3 separate regions of the Homo sapiens genome follow, and regions 1 and 3 are each linked to region 2. Evidence: promoter capture Hi-C in 16 types of primary human blood cells and fetal thymus (Javierre and others, 2016). All regions are on one chromosome and are shown on one strand. Each heading gives the region's core, a stretch centred on a gene start or on the middle of the fragment in contact. The rest is flanking DNA. Distances are from core to core; before and after follow the strand shown. Region 1 overlaps FANCM (FA complementation group M). Region 2 holds the start of DORIP1 (dopamine receptor interacting protein 1). Region 3 overlaps FANCM (FA complementation group M).

What was found. Contacts are between HindIII fragments. The CHiCAGO score rates a contact against its expected background, and 5 or more counts as called.
Region 1: a fragment that was not itself captured here is called in contact with the fragment with the promoter of DORIP1 in region 2 in 7 of 17 cell types (naive CD4 T cells, total CD4 T cells, neutrophils and 4 more); the score reaches 8.8 in naive CD4 T cells.
Region 3: a fragment that was not itself captured here is called in contact with the fragment with the promoter of DORIP1 in region 2 in 14 of 17 cell types (activated CD4 T cells, naive CD8 T cells, total CD8 T cells and 11 more); the score reaches 14.5 in activated CD4 T cells.

What each region holds. Positions count from the first base shown.
Region 1 is chr14:45,173,072-45,177,462 of GRCh38, reverse strand. FANCM (FA complementation group M) reads right to left here. Exons shown (of 23, transcript NM_020937.4): 13 at 4,253-4,391; 14 at 487-2,392. Among named protein-coding and RNA genes, the nearest start is that of FANCM, 39 kb to the right of the region's middle. The HindIII fragment of the contact is 8,866 bases long and covers 1-4,391 here.
Region 2 is chr14:44,895,713-44,900,059 of GRCh38, reverse strand. It overlaps DORIP1 (dopamine receptor interacting protein 1), which reads right to left and starts at 2,785. Exons shown (of 5, transcript NM_001017923.2): 1 at 2,492-2,785. LOC101927418 (a long non-coding RNA gene) reads left to right here. Exons shown (of 3, transcript NR_110050.1): 2 at 747-830; 3 at 984-1,152. RefSeq lists silencers at 2,131-2,450, 2,471-2,600 and enhancers at 1,967-2,466, 3,091-3,140. The HindIII fragment of the contact is 3,873 bases long and covers 1-3,126 here.
Region 3 is chr14:45,156,121-45,160,470 of GRCh38, reverse strand. FANCM (FA complementation group M) reads right to left here. Exons shown (of 23, transcript NM_020937.4): 9 at 1,191-1,375. Among named protein-coding and RNA genes, the nearest start is that of FANCM, 22 kb to the right of the region's middle. The HindIII fragment of the contact is 887 bases long and covers 2,152-3,038 here.

The sequences.
Region 1 (4,391 bases), core at 1,792-4,291, 280 kb before region 2:
CCGAGACCATGCCATTGCACTCCAGCCTGGGCAACAAGAGCAAAACTCCGTCTCAAAAAAAACAAAGAAACAAAAAAAGTCCAATCTAATCAACCTCAAAATTTCATCATCCTCTGAACCTCCTAAACAGCCACTCTCTTATTATTCATTTGGTAGTTATTTCCACATTTTACTGGCATCTTTTCAAATACGTATGTCACATAATTATGTTTTACAACCAAGACCTAGGGCCAGATCTTACTCATCTTCGTGTATTTCATAATGTCTAGCAAGAATAACTTTTTCCATACCATGCGTGCCATAAGTATATGTAAATAAATCTAATATTAGTAAGATCATCTTAAGAAAAATATAACACATCAATTATCTAATTCAATATTTATATTGTACCATGTACTAAAAAATTACATTTGGAAAAATTACCAAAGTATTTCTAGAGTAATTATTCTAGAAAGAGTTATAGACTTTATAAAGATGGAATCTTACCTTCAACAGAATGACAGGATTTATGCAGATACATTGGACCACTGCTTTTAGACTTTTCTAGAGAAAATTCTGAATAATCAAAAGTTGAATTCAATGCTTCTTTGAATCTTTGTAGGTTTACTTTTTCCTTACTAGAATCTGGTGTCTTAAGTATTTCCTTTCTTATCTTAGAAAATGAGTTCAATGTGTTTGATTTAGAGAGTGGTGTACTCATAACTTTTTTTTGCACTGGTAAAGAAAACTGAGAATAACCAGGAGATAACAATTCTTCATTTTTTGCTGCACTCAGTGGCAAATGTACATAATTTGGATTCTGCATATCTTCATTTGATGGGATAATAACAGTTCCACTAGTAAAATTTTTACTATGATCTCTTGGTATTAGTGCTTGATTCGAAACATAATTTGCATCACTTATCTCCTTAATTTCCAAATACCTTCCATATAGATCATCTAGAGGTCTATTGCTATCTGATGTATGTTCCAATATTTCATCATCAGAATCTGGACTACAGAATCCTAAATCAAAGGTAACAGAAAATAAATCCCTAGAGCAATCAAAAATATCCTCATGATTCTTCACTTTTTCTTCCTGTACACCTCTCTGATCACGAGATTTAAAACTATTAGCATCACGGGTGATTTGATCTTGGAGTTCAGAATTATTGTCCAACAAAAGTTCATCAGAAATTAAGAACTGAGAGACCAGAGGCGTTTCACTAATAGCAGTTTTGTCTGACACAGGTAAAGATTCGCTTTTACTGTTCAAGGGTGAAAGACTCACATCGTCGAACTCTGTATTAACATCTTCAAATAACAGCAAACTTTCATCTTGATCAGTGGACAATACTGGGAGGTCACTGTTATCAACATCATGATTGTTCTCTCCAACTAAATTCTGTGCAGGGCTTCTGTGTATTTGAACACGATTGTTAGGTACTAAATTTTCATTTTGATTATGTTTATGTACATCACAGTCACAGAGACTTGGCTCATCAGAAATATTATCATTAGGTATATCATAAAGGCAACTTTTTTCAGATGGATAATTTATACATTTAAGTGAATTCAATTCTAAATTCTGTTGAGAATTCACAGCTGAATGTGACAGCAAACAGGTGCATTTATCACTTCGTAAATGCTCTGCACAGGGTAAGAAAAGCAAATTCTCAAGTGCAGTACCCTTAGCAATTTCATATTCCAAGTCTGAGAGTCCACTGAGAGGCGGAGGAGAATAAGATAAAAATCTCTCTACATTAGCTAGTACCTCTTTTGTCAATGAGTGACAATTATAAAATTGGTCATCTGTTCTAACAATATAAAGCTCTTCTTCGAATGGAAGAAATAAGTTAGATGAAACAGATTTTTCATCATTGAAACTGTTATAACCAGAATCTAAAACATTTCCAGCAAGTGAACTAGTGGATTTATTTGTAAACTGACACTCTGTTAATAACACACACGGTTCTTTAATAACATTTTCATTAATAGTACATGTGGCAGCAATTTCATCTGTATCTGATGTCCTTTTATCATTTGGTAGGTCTTCTTGAAAAATATTTTCAACAGTGGAATTTCTGTCATTATCTACAGAATCTATAATACCGTGATTATTTTCTTTTTTAAGCTGATCTTTTTTTATTTCTTTAGACACTTTTTTCTTTAAAGAAACAATTTTAGTAGGTTTGATATGAGTTTGTTTAACAATTTCAGCACATTCTTCATCAGATTCTATCACTGAGGATGAACTGCCTTGATTTATGTTCTTTATAAATGACGATTTCTTGTGAGTGATAAAGGTGTCACTGGCAAGATTATTAGATTCATTCCTGGGAGCAATAAATGTTGAGGTAACATCTTCCATTTGTAAATAAGATTCAACTTCCAATTCATAGCTGCATTCTCCCTATAAATAAGGAAAATTTAAAAAGCCACAGGAAAACAAAACAAAACAGAAAGCCAAATCTAAGAGAGGAGTTTCACTCTATATTAAAATATTTATATTATTACATTGTTCCAGTGATATTCTTTTATACCTTAAAAGTTATTCCGATAAATCAAAATTATAAAGTACACTACTGTGAAACTATCAAGTTATCATTAATCAGTTAACTTTTTTGTATCCCCAGTACTTAATACCCAAAAGACCCTTGGTAACTATTTGTAGGAAGAACAAATTGAATGAATACATAAGAATATAGTGAGTTTTACATTTCTAACATTTAACTGAATTATTCTAATTTCTTAAAAATAGATATTTTAAAAACATATATTAATAAAAACCATATACATTTGTTAAATTTACTCTTTCAATGACAGTAAACTAAGAATAGCTTTTGGAATGTCCAACATAGTAGTACCTGTATGTCTGCTAGGTTGTATCCTGGAATATACTTCTATTTGTAACAAAGTTCCTAATCAAGGATTCGTATAGTGAATTTCTAAGTCTTACTTATCTCTAAGTTATTAGCTAAAACTTACAATCTCCACCATCCCTCCTTTCCCCTAAGAATGCTACTTTAATCAGGATTCCTCTACTACTTATAGACTTAAGCAGTTACCTCTCTGGTTTTTTTGTTTTTTTTTTTTTTAGACAAAGTCTCGCTCTGTCGCCCAGGCTGGAGTACGGTGACTTGATCTTGGCTCACTGCAACCTCCGCTTCCCGGGTTCAAGTGACTCTCCTGCCTCAGCCTTCTGAGTAGCTGGGATTACAGGCATGTGCCACCACACCCAGCTAATTTTTGTATTTTTAGTACAGACAGGGTTTCCTCATATTGGCCAGGCTGGTCTCGAACTCCTGACCTCAAGTGATCTGCCTGCTTCGGCCTCCCAAAGCCTGAGATTACAGGCATGAGCCACCGCACCTGGCCCTCTGCTTTTTTGAATAATAAATATAATAAGCATTAATGTGAGCAAATGTCTGTCTCCCTGCTAGTATATATACTCCACATAAACAGAATATTTTCTCTGTTTGCTAACGGTTATAGCCATAAAGCAGGGAATAGAGTGTGGCACACAGAAGGCACTCAATAAATATATGTTAATTTGATTGCACACATTTTGCTGGGATCCACATCTAACTACTTTATTTACATGTATGCATGATCAAAGGCTAATAATAAAAATAGGAGCTACAATTTACTGTGTACTTATCATATGCCAGCTACTACGTGCTTTACATATATTAGGTCATTTAATCCTCACAACAACCTTATGAAATAAGTATTATCACTATGACTATTTTACAGATAAAACTGAAGCACTGAGAGGTTAAATAACTTACAAACACACAATCAGTAGGAGGCAGAGTTAGGATTCTAACCCAGGCACTATGGATTTCACACTCATAATTGGTTCACTATGCTGACTCTAGGAAGAATAATCAAGGAACTGCTCAAGGAATCTATAATTCTCTAAACTAGGACCAGGATACAAGAAAGATATCAAATAACCTAGATGACAGAGAGTATTTCAATAAATCCGAATCCAAAAGAATCCTAAATAAGGTTTACAAACAGTTTACATAAATCATTTAAGTATATTAAAATTCTACTCTGGTCTATCAATATTTACAGATGATATTCTTCTTCTAATTAATTAAATCTATTTCTTCTCTTAAGGCAGAAAACTCATTCTTTACTGAGATCACAAGGAACTATACAGAAAAACAAAGTATTTCTTATTACTTCAAATTAAGAAAAATAAAAGCTAAGTACTCTAGTTTTACTATCATACCAGCAAGAGAAAGTTACAATAAAACCCCACCTCTTCGTGTCTCATTCCCTCTATCATTTGCATAAGGCCTATAAAATGGCGGCATCGATCTGAGTGATCAACTTGATGTGTAGGCAAAGGATGATCTTGCCACAGTCTCCATTCAGAGAGAGAGAGTTGATGAATTCCA
Region 2 (4,347 bases), core at 1,536-4,035:
CGGGCGTTCGAGACCAGCCTGACCAACATGGAGAAACCCTCTCTCTATTAAAAATACAAAATTAGCTGGGCGTGGTGGCGCATGCCTGTAATCCCAGCTACTCGGGAGGCTGAGGCAGGAGAATCGCTTGAACCTGGGAGGCGGAGGTTGCGGTGAGCCGAGATCACGCCATCTCATTCCAGCCTGGGCAACGAGTGAAACTCCATCTCAAAAAAAAAAAAAAAAAAAAAAAAAATTCCTAAATGAAAATAAAGCTATTAAAAACATTAACTTTGGTTAGGCATATTCCTAATGTAAACCTCCTCATCTTTCCAAAATACAGGCTGTGCTTGCTTCATTTTCTTGTTAATATGGGTGATTCCACTTAAGAAACTAATATAATGGGATCCTTAATTGGGGGTACAGAATAATAGCCATTACATAATCTTTATATTAACTATACTACATATTTTATTTGTTGTAGAGAAAAACTATGTAAAAAAAAAAACTCCTGTTGCTATATAGACTAAGACTAATTCTGACATTTAGCTTTGAAAGACAGCATGAGGAGTAATCATGAAAATCAATCTTAAGTGAATAGTAGCATAGCTAATATTGCTAATCACTTTGGGATTTTTATTTGCAACTGAGAATTGTGCTATTGTGCAATTTAGATATACTATAATTTTTAACTACAGAGGCTATACTATGAAGATCTGATTCAGAACTTGATAAATATCCTGATTATTCCCTATGCATGTTTTCAGAATGAAGCAAAGCATCCTCCCTTTTCAAACTGGCACTCTTCCCCAACCTTGAGGACCACTAGGCACTTTGTTTTTAAAGCCACAGTAAGTATTTTAATAAATATGTTGTGTTATATGTATGTTATATAGCGCACATACTTTTGAAAGAATGAGTTCTTTTTACAATTGTATTGAAAAAACTCCTTCACTTTACTTGGGACAAGCAAATAAACTAACAACATCATATTGTTTTCCGAGGTTACTTTTATGGAGAAGTATTGTTATGAAAAAAGGGAGGCATCTGAGGAGTGGAAACAGAGAAATGAGTGACTGAGATCAGTGTCTTATTTTGACCATCTTTTCCAAGTGCTGCATCCTCCCAAACACAACATGAACTCAACACTTAATAAAGCTGCAGTCCTACGTGTTTTATTTGTGTAAGAAACTAAGTCCAAAACATTCTGCAACGCGAGTAAAAATTCACTTCTGCAATATATTAAACACACATGAACACAGTGTTTTCAGTTTGAAGCAAGATACTGTGGACTCTAAAATATCCAGTAACTATATTTAGTATGAAGAGTGGATGTTTATATCTAGTTGGCCAACACATTGATTCTAGTCATCCACTTAGGAAGAAGAGGGTGTGGCAAATCTGCAGCCTAGGAAAACACAAACTCAGTTTCTTCGTAATAGATACTGATTCGTTTTGTTTACAAAGATTTTAAAAAACAGTTATGCATTCAAATACTTTAAAAACGAAAATAACTTTATGGTTTGATTTATTTCCGTTGAATTTTAAAGAACTTTGTAGCAAGGTTTAAGATTGCTTAAAGAGCCTGAGTTCGGATTCCTAAAATAGTGCATTGGGAAGGAAGCATAAATCTCTAGGATATTTTCTTCACATTATCTTCAGACATGACCAAATGAAGTGTAACTACCCTTACACTCTAAGAGAATTAAACTATAATGACATATGTGGCATGAAACTTTAGTCTTTCTCTGGAAAAAACGGGAGGAGGGAAGGTTTGGAAGAACTAGAGGATACTAGTTTCATCATGAATTTGGTGATTTGTTCCAAAGTAAATTGCAATAAAAATGAGGGGTGGGGAAAAATGATGGAAAGATAGCTGTGAAGAGCTTTACTTAAAATTGTCTTAGCTGTTTAGCTAGGAACTGTAATTAGAAGGACTGGAGGATGTATTCCGCTGGCTTTATTCTCCAGGCTCTACGGGCCCTCCAATTTGAATAAACCTGGAAAACTCTCCTGACCTCTATTTCTTTGACAAAACATCTTTCTTTCGTGGTGACTTCCAAGGGAGGAAATTGGTACCCCAAGCTAGCCGTGAGGACCCCACCACATGCCCAAGGCATTGAACGCCAGACTCCCTAAGGACTCAGGGATTCTAAAAGTCCCCTCTCAAATCAGCGCCTAAAATACGCCTGTACAGCCACGCGCTACCGCTCCCAGCAGCGCGGGACTTCGGGACAGGGACAAGGCGGACGCTAGGCGTGCGCCCCCGGGGAGCCCCCACGTTCCGGCCACGCCCACCCTGGCCCTGGGCAGCCGCGCCCGGGAGGCCTGGCACCGAGGCGGGCGGGTCCCCGAGTTAGGGGCCCGCGAGTCGGCTGGGCGCCCCCGCCTCTGCCCGGGCAGTGCCCCGCCGAGTGCTCAGAACTGCGGACAAATAGGCTGGAGGGCCGGGCCGCGGAAGGCGTTCCCACACCGGCCAGTCTCCGTCCACCAGGAAGCAAACTCCTCGTACCTCCCTGGGGACCGAAAACTGCCGGTGCCGCCGCACCCGTCGCCGCCGCCGCCTGCTCATGGAGAGCCCGGGCTGCCGCCGCCGCCGCCGCCGCCGCTGCCTCATCTATGAGTACCGCCGGCTGTCTCGGCCTCCCCCGGCGTGAGTTCTGGGCTCTGGCATGGCCTCCATGGCAGCCGCCGCGGCGGGAGCCACAGCAGCTCCAGCGCCCAGGCCCAATCTCACTGGACCCACGGAGCCAGGACAGTGGGACACGTCGCTTCTTATTACGGAGGAAGATTCGGCACGACCTCCGCCCCCCTCCCCCCAACCCCCCCGTTTTCAGCCGCCTGACAGCGCAGCTGCGCAGGCGCGAAGACGCCCCAGCCTAATGTGCGTGTGTCGGCTGTGTATACAGCATCCAGATTCGCCCAATGGGAACCAGGATCAGGTGTGGGGGGCGGGACCTCGCAGAGAGGGGCGGGGTTCCACTGGTAGAAGGTGGGTGGGGAAGCCGGAAGTGGGCAGAGTTTGCACGGAGGCGGAGCTTTATTGGCAAACCTGATTGGCTTTTTGAGGTTTGTACCATTTTAGGACTTGATTTTAGTTTGCTTCTGGGTCTTGTTTTCTCAAATTCTTAACCTAGAAAGAAAGCTTTGTTTTCTCAGTAAATTACGGTTTTTTAAGCGTTTAAGTATTTACTTAGAAAACAGTTGAATTGATCTGTTAAATGCCAGCTTTAGTGTTCAAGTTAATTATTGGCCAATATACTGTAACTTACAGTGGAAGTTAACCCCATTTTGAAAAATTAGATTGTTTTAATTCCATTGTGAAGTTGAAAAAATTGGGTTTTGGAGATAATAAGGTCCCACACAGCAAGTGACGGAGCTGGAAATTACAGTTAGGACAACTTAATGCTAGTTTGTGGGCTCAACCACTATTTCTGTTTATTAGGGCCGAGTTTTTGTATCTCCCGTAAAGAAGCAAGGCCCTGTATGGCTCTGCATCTGGAGAACACAGGCCACCCTGCAAAAACTACCTCTCCTTGCAAGTAGGCATGGAGATCTGGTTGAGATTTTCCCCATCCAGCCTTTCAACAAATAATGAGGGTCTGGAAAGTTAGCTCTAACGTTCAGAACACGTGAGGGCTAATGAGAGAGCTCAAGGCTATCCTAGTAAATCAGTGTGGTTTTCCGTCACAGGCTGAGCCTGGGAGAGGCTGGATGCCTTCTTGACCGGTGTGATGGTCGGCCAAAGCTATGGAGGGGAACTTCCTCATGGATCTCTCTAAAAAAGTCTAGAAATGGAAGAGAGACTTCCATTTCTTGAGTTTTGGCTCTGCCCAAAAAAGAATAATTAATAGCTCTGGCAAAGCCTGCTCTTTTTAGTTTCCTGTTTTTTCTTATTTCTTATGGTATTTTATAGATGAGGAAACTGAGGCTCTTAGAGATAAACTAGTGTGTTGGAAAACTTGCAAAAAGTTCACTCTCAATATTAATCCTCTCCTACAGGTAGAAAAGCCCTTTAAAAATGTTTGTAAATGTGGATTATGTGTTTAATTATAAATCTCTCACAAGACATGGAGTTCATTTTATACTGATTAGGTCATTCTCTTCCTGAAAACAGCCATAGTATGGTGGATGACACCATTTCTGGAGAATAGTATTGAGATTGCTCATTAAACTCTGCCGAGTCTCAGCTAGATGGAGGAAGCATGGATTCCTTGAATACTTGGATAACTCACAAACATCACTGAGGCCTTTAACTGAAATTTCCATTCTGCATCTTTTCCACCGTCTTCAAAATCTGACATCTGAGTTGTAGGGTTTTTTTAGATATATTTACTGAAGTATAATTGGCATAGAATATATAGAGCA
Region 3 (4,350 bases), core at 1,346-3,845, 260 kb before region 2:
GGCACCTGTAGTCCCAGCTACTCAGGAGGCTGAGGCAGGAGAGTCTCTTGAACCCGGGAGGCGGAGGTTTCAGTGACTCGAGATTGGGCCACTGTACTCCACCCTGGGCGACAGAGAGAGACTCCATTTCAAAATTAAAAAAAAAAAAAAAAGAAAAGAAGAAGAAGACTACCTCCCAGCCAGGCGAGGTGGCTCATGCCTGTAATATCAGCATTTTGGGAGGCTGAGGCGGGCGGATCACCAGACGTCAGAAGTTTGAGACCACCCTGGCCAAGATGATGAAACCCCATCTCTACTAAAAATACAAAAATTAGCCAGGCGTGGGTGCCTGTAATCCCAGCTCTCTGGAGGCTGAGGCAGGAGAATTGCTTGAACCTGGGAGGCGGAGGTTGCAGTGAGCCAAGATCACACCACTGCACTCCAGCCTGGGCAACAGAGTAAGATTCCATCTAAAAAAAAAAAAAAAAACAAAAAAAAAACCTCATCTACTAACGTCTGCAGAATCAAAAAAGGATCTGTCAAAATTAATTAGAAATTAAAGAGATATCTAATTGTCAGTCACTACTCAAGTATAGACTTACATAGTTAATTTATAAAAAGCTGCATAGATTTTATAAAAATCAATAATGTAAAATTTCCCTCAAAACATCACAGCACTTAGAAAACCGAATGTCCTCTTACTCAGAGCATAAGGCTACCTTAAATACTATCATGGTTTCTTCTGACCCCACTTCTAAAATAAGATTTTTAAATAAATAAAAAGAGGCTAATTATTTGTTTAGAATAAATTATTAAAGCGACTTAATAAACATTTATTGGTGGCTCTACAATAAGATCTCTTTCAATGCTTACAACAACTCTATGATGTATGTTTACAGATAAGGAAAACTGAGGAAGAGGAAGTAAAGAAACTTTTAAGTGGTAGAGTCAGGATTCCAACCCAGTTAATATAATTCCACAGCTTTTCTGCTTAACTTTTACACTTTACATTACTTTAAAAAAAAAAAAGTTCCAAAACCACATAAAACATTTGTTATCATCTTTCAAAATATGCTTATTTTTACCTACACGTTTACTGTAAAATTCTTTTTAAGTAGCTAATTGACCAGTGAGTTAAAACTAACAAAAAAAGAACAAGTGCAAAGCTAATCAATCTTATTTTTATTTTTATCAATTCCAAAAATAATTACCTCCAGTTGCTCCTTCTGGGTAAAACCCTTCGTGCTTTTCCCTGAGGCATGGCCGACAAAAGTCATTACTCTAATAATTGGCTGATGCTGTGAAAGCATTTCTGCAATTTCTTGAACACTATCTCGAAATGAAGAGAAGATCATAACTCGGGTCTCATCACGTTTCTTTTCAGTAGTGTTTTCAGCTATATATATATATAAAAACTTTAATTACAACTTTTTACAAAGCATTTAGACAAGAAATAGTTCAAAAGACAAACCTGAAAGTGTTAATGCTAACGAATGATAATTCTTTCAAAAAAATAATTCAGCTGGATGTGGTGGCACACACCTATAGTCCCAGCTACTTGGGAGGCTGAGATGGGGAAATCGCTTGAGCCCAGGAGTTCAAGACCAGCCTGGGCAACATAACATAGCAAGACCCAGTCTCTAATAAACAAACATACAAATAAATAAATAATTTCAAACATCTTGAAATTTTTTAAACTATATTCTCTATTAATTTTAATAATCTTAGCTTATTACCATTGGCTGTCATAAAATAAAATCCTAAACAAATCAAATATGAATTATCTGAATCACTTTTGACTAGTCCTTCAACTCAGGCATAATGGCTATCATTTCCCTTTACCTTCTAAGATGGCCAGAAGCACAGAACTATGCAGCTCCCCCTAATTTCATAAGTCTTCCCTTTCCTTTCTGTTCACTAAAGGAAATGTCTTAATCCAAGCCATGCATTCTGTCCTCAAATCTACTATACTTTCAAATTCTCCAAAGACAACTGCAGAACATACCCTACAGTGAATTCCAAAGCTGCTCCCGATATGTCTGTGCTGGGGGGCGGGTGAGGTAGGGGGGTGGCGGGCAGTAGAATGCACTAATAAGAACATGATCTTTGTGGCTGGGCACTTAATTCTCTGGGTGATTGGTGATCATGGTAGTTATTTAAACTCTTTAAGCTTTAGTTTCTTCATATCTAATATGGATTGATGTATAAATGAAACAGTATATAGTTTTGCACATATAGTAATTGGCTAATTATTGCATACTGTGTGGGGTTTTTGGTTGTTTGTTTTTATTTTTGAGACAGGGTCATGTTTGGTCACCTAGGCTGGAATGCAGTGGCACCATCATGGCTCACTACAGCTTCGACCTCTTGGGCTCAGGTGATCCTCCCACCTCATGCTCTGAGTAGCTGGGACTACAGGCTCATGCCACCATGCCCAGCTACATTTTAAAATTTTTTTGTAGAGACGGGGTTTTGCCATGTTGCCAAGGCTGGTCTCGAACTCCTGGGCTGAAGAGATCTGCCCACCTCAGCCTCCCAAAGTGCTGGGATTACAGGCATGAGCCACGACATCCAACCTCTACTGATTTTTATTATCTTAATCATCATATGTGTTCCAAGGACCGCACTACGCATTTTATGTATGTTAACTCATTTAATCTTCACAACTCCTCTAAGGAATAAATGACTTATTAAATATAAAGTTAATTTACAATACAAAAACAAAACGTAGGACTTGAAGAAGCAGCTGTTCCAAGTAAAATTATTCTAAACAAACTTCTTTTGAATCATCATTGCATCAAGCATCAAGTCTCTGTATGTGACCAGCTCCTGAATGAATTGCTACTTTCATCACAAAACCTGTATCTCCTTCAATCTGTCACAGCCTGCCTTTTTACCCTCATTCCACTAAAGCTCCTTTCAGCAAAATCATCAATAACTTCCATACTGCCAAGTTCAATCGACACTTTTTAGTTTAACACACTTTCCTCTTTCCTTCTGAAATAGTCTCTTTCTTCAGCTTCTCTAACATTTTACTTGTCCAGTTTCCTCCCCAAGCTTTTTTTCCTCCAAACTCTTAACTGTTGATATTCTTCAGGACTCCATTCTGGACCCTCCTCTGTATATCTCTAAACTGTTGTCCTGATAATCACATCTATTCCTGAAACTTTAAATATTACCTTTATGCTGATAACTCCAAAATGTATTCACATATATGTAAATATGTAAAAACAGCAGCAATCATTCTTCTGAGATCCAGATTTGGTTATCTAATGCCTACTTGACACTTAGGTGTCTCAAAAACATCTTAACATGTTTGCTCTTTCTTTTGTTATTCTTTTTTTTAATTGACAAATAAAAGTTGTATATATTTATGTTGTACAATATGTTTTGAGATGTCTATATACATTGTGAAATGGCTAAATCAAGCTAATTAACATACATATTACCTCACATACTTATCTCTATTCTTCATTTTTCACTTTGCTCATGTAATCATTTGCAAACATGTACACATAAATGTATATACCCAGCCATATGATTCCTTTTTTCCTTTTTTTTTTTTTTTTTTTTTTGAGACAGAGTCTCACTCTTTTGCCAGGCTGCAGTGCAGTGGCGCAATCTTGGCTTACCGCAACCTCCGTCTCCCAGGTTCAAGAGATTCTCCTGCCTCAGCCTCCCGAGTAGCTGAGACTACAGGCACATACCACCACACTCAGCTAATTTTTGTATTTTTAGTAGAGACGGGGTTTCACCATGTTGGCCAGGATGGTTTTGATTTCTTGACCTCGTGATCTGCCCACCTCGGCCTCTCACAGTGCTGGGATTACAGGTGTGAGCCACTGCACCTGGCCAATTCCCTTTTTCTTATACCATACGTCTAATCCATCAACAAATACAATAAATAAGTTGGCTCCAATTTGAACATATATCTAGAATCTATCTCCCAGCACCTTGACCACTATTGCCTTGATGAACACCACTATTATGTGTCATCATCCAAGACTATCGTAATACTTTTCTAGGTTATCAATGTCTATGCTCCACAAAACTACCAGAGTGATCCTTAAAATGTCATGTCATTCCACTGCTACAAATACCTCTGTTTGGTTTTGCAAAGCACAAATATTCAGAAATTAAAAACTAAAGTCTGATATTATCTGCATACCTCTCATCTATACCACTTGTAGGCTCAGTCATACTTGTAGCCTCAATCTAACCACACTGGTCTGTTTAATCACACCAAGCACCCTACTGCCACCTCAAGGCCTTTGAATCTGCTATTTTTACTGCTTGGAATTATCTCTCCCCCAGCCTCCAAAACTCACAAGGCTTCCTCCCTTATCTCCATCATCACTTTAAATATCCCTC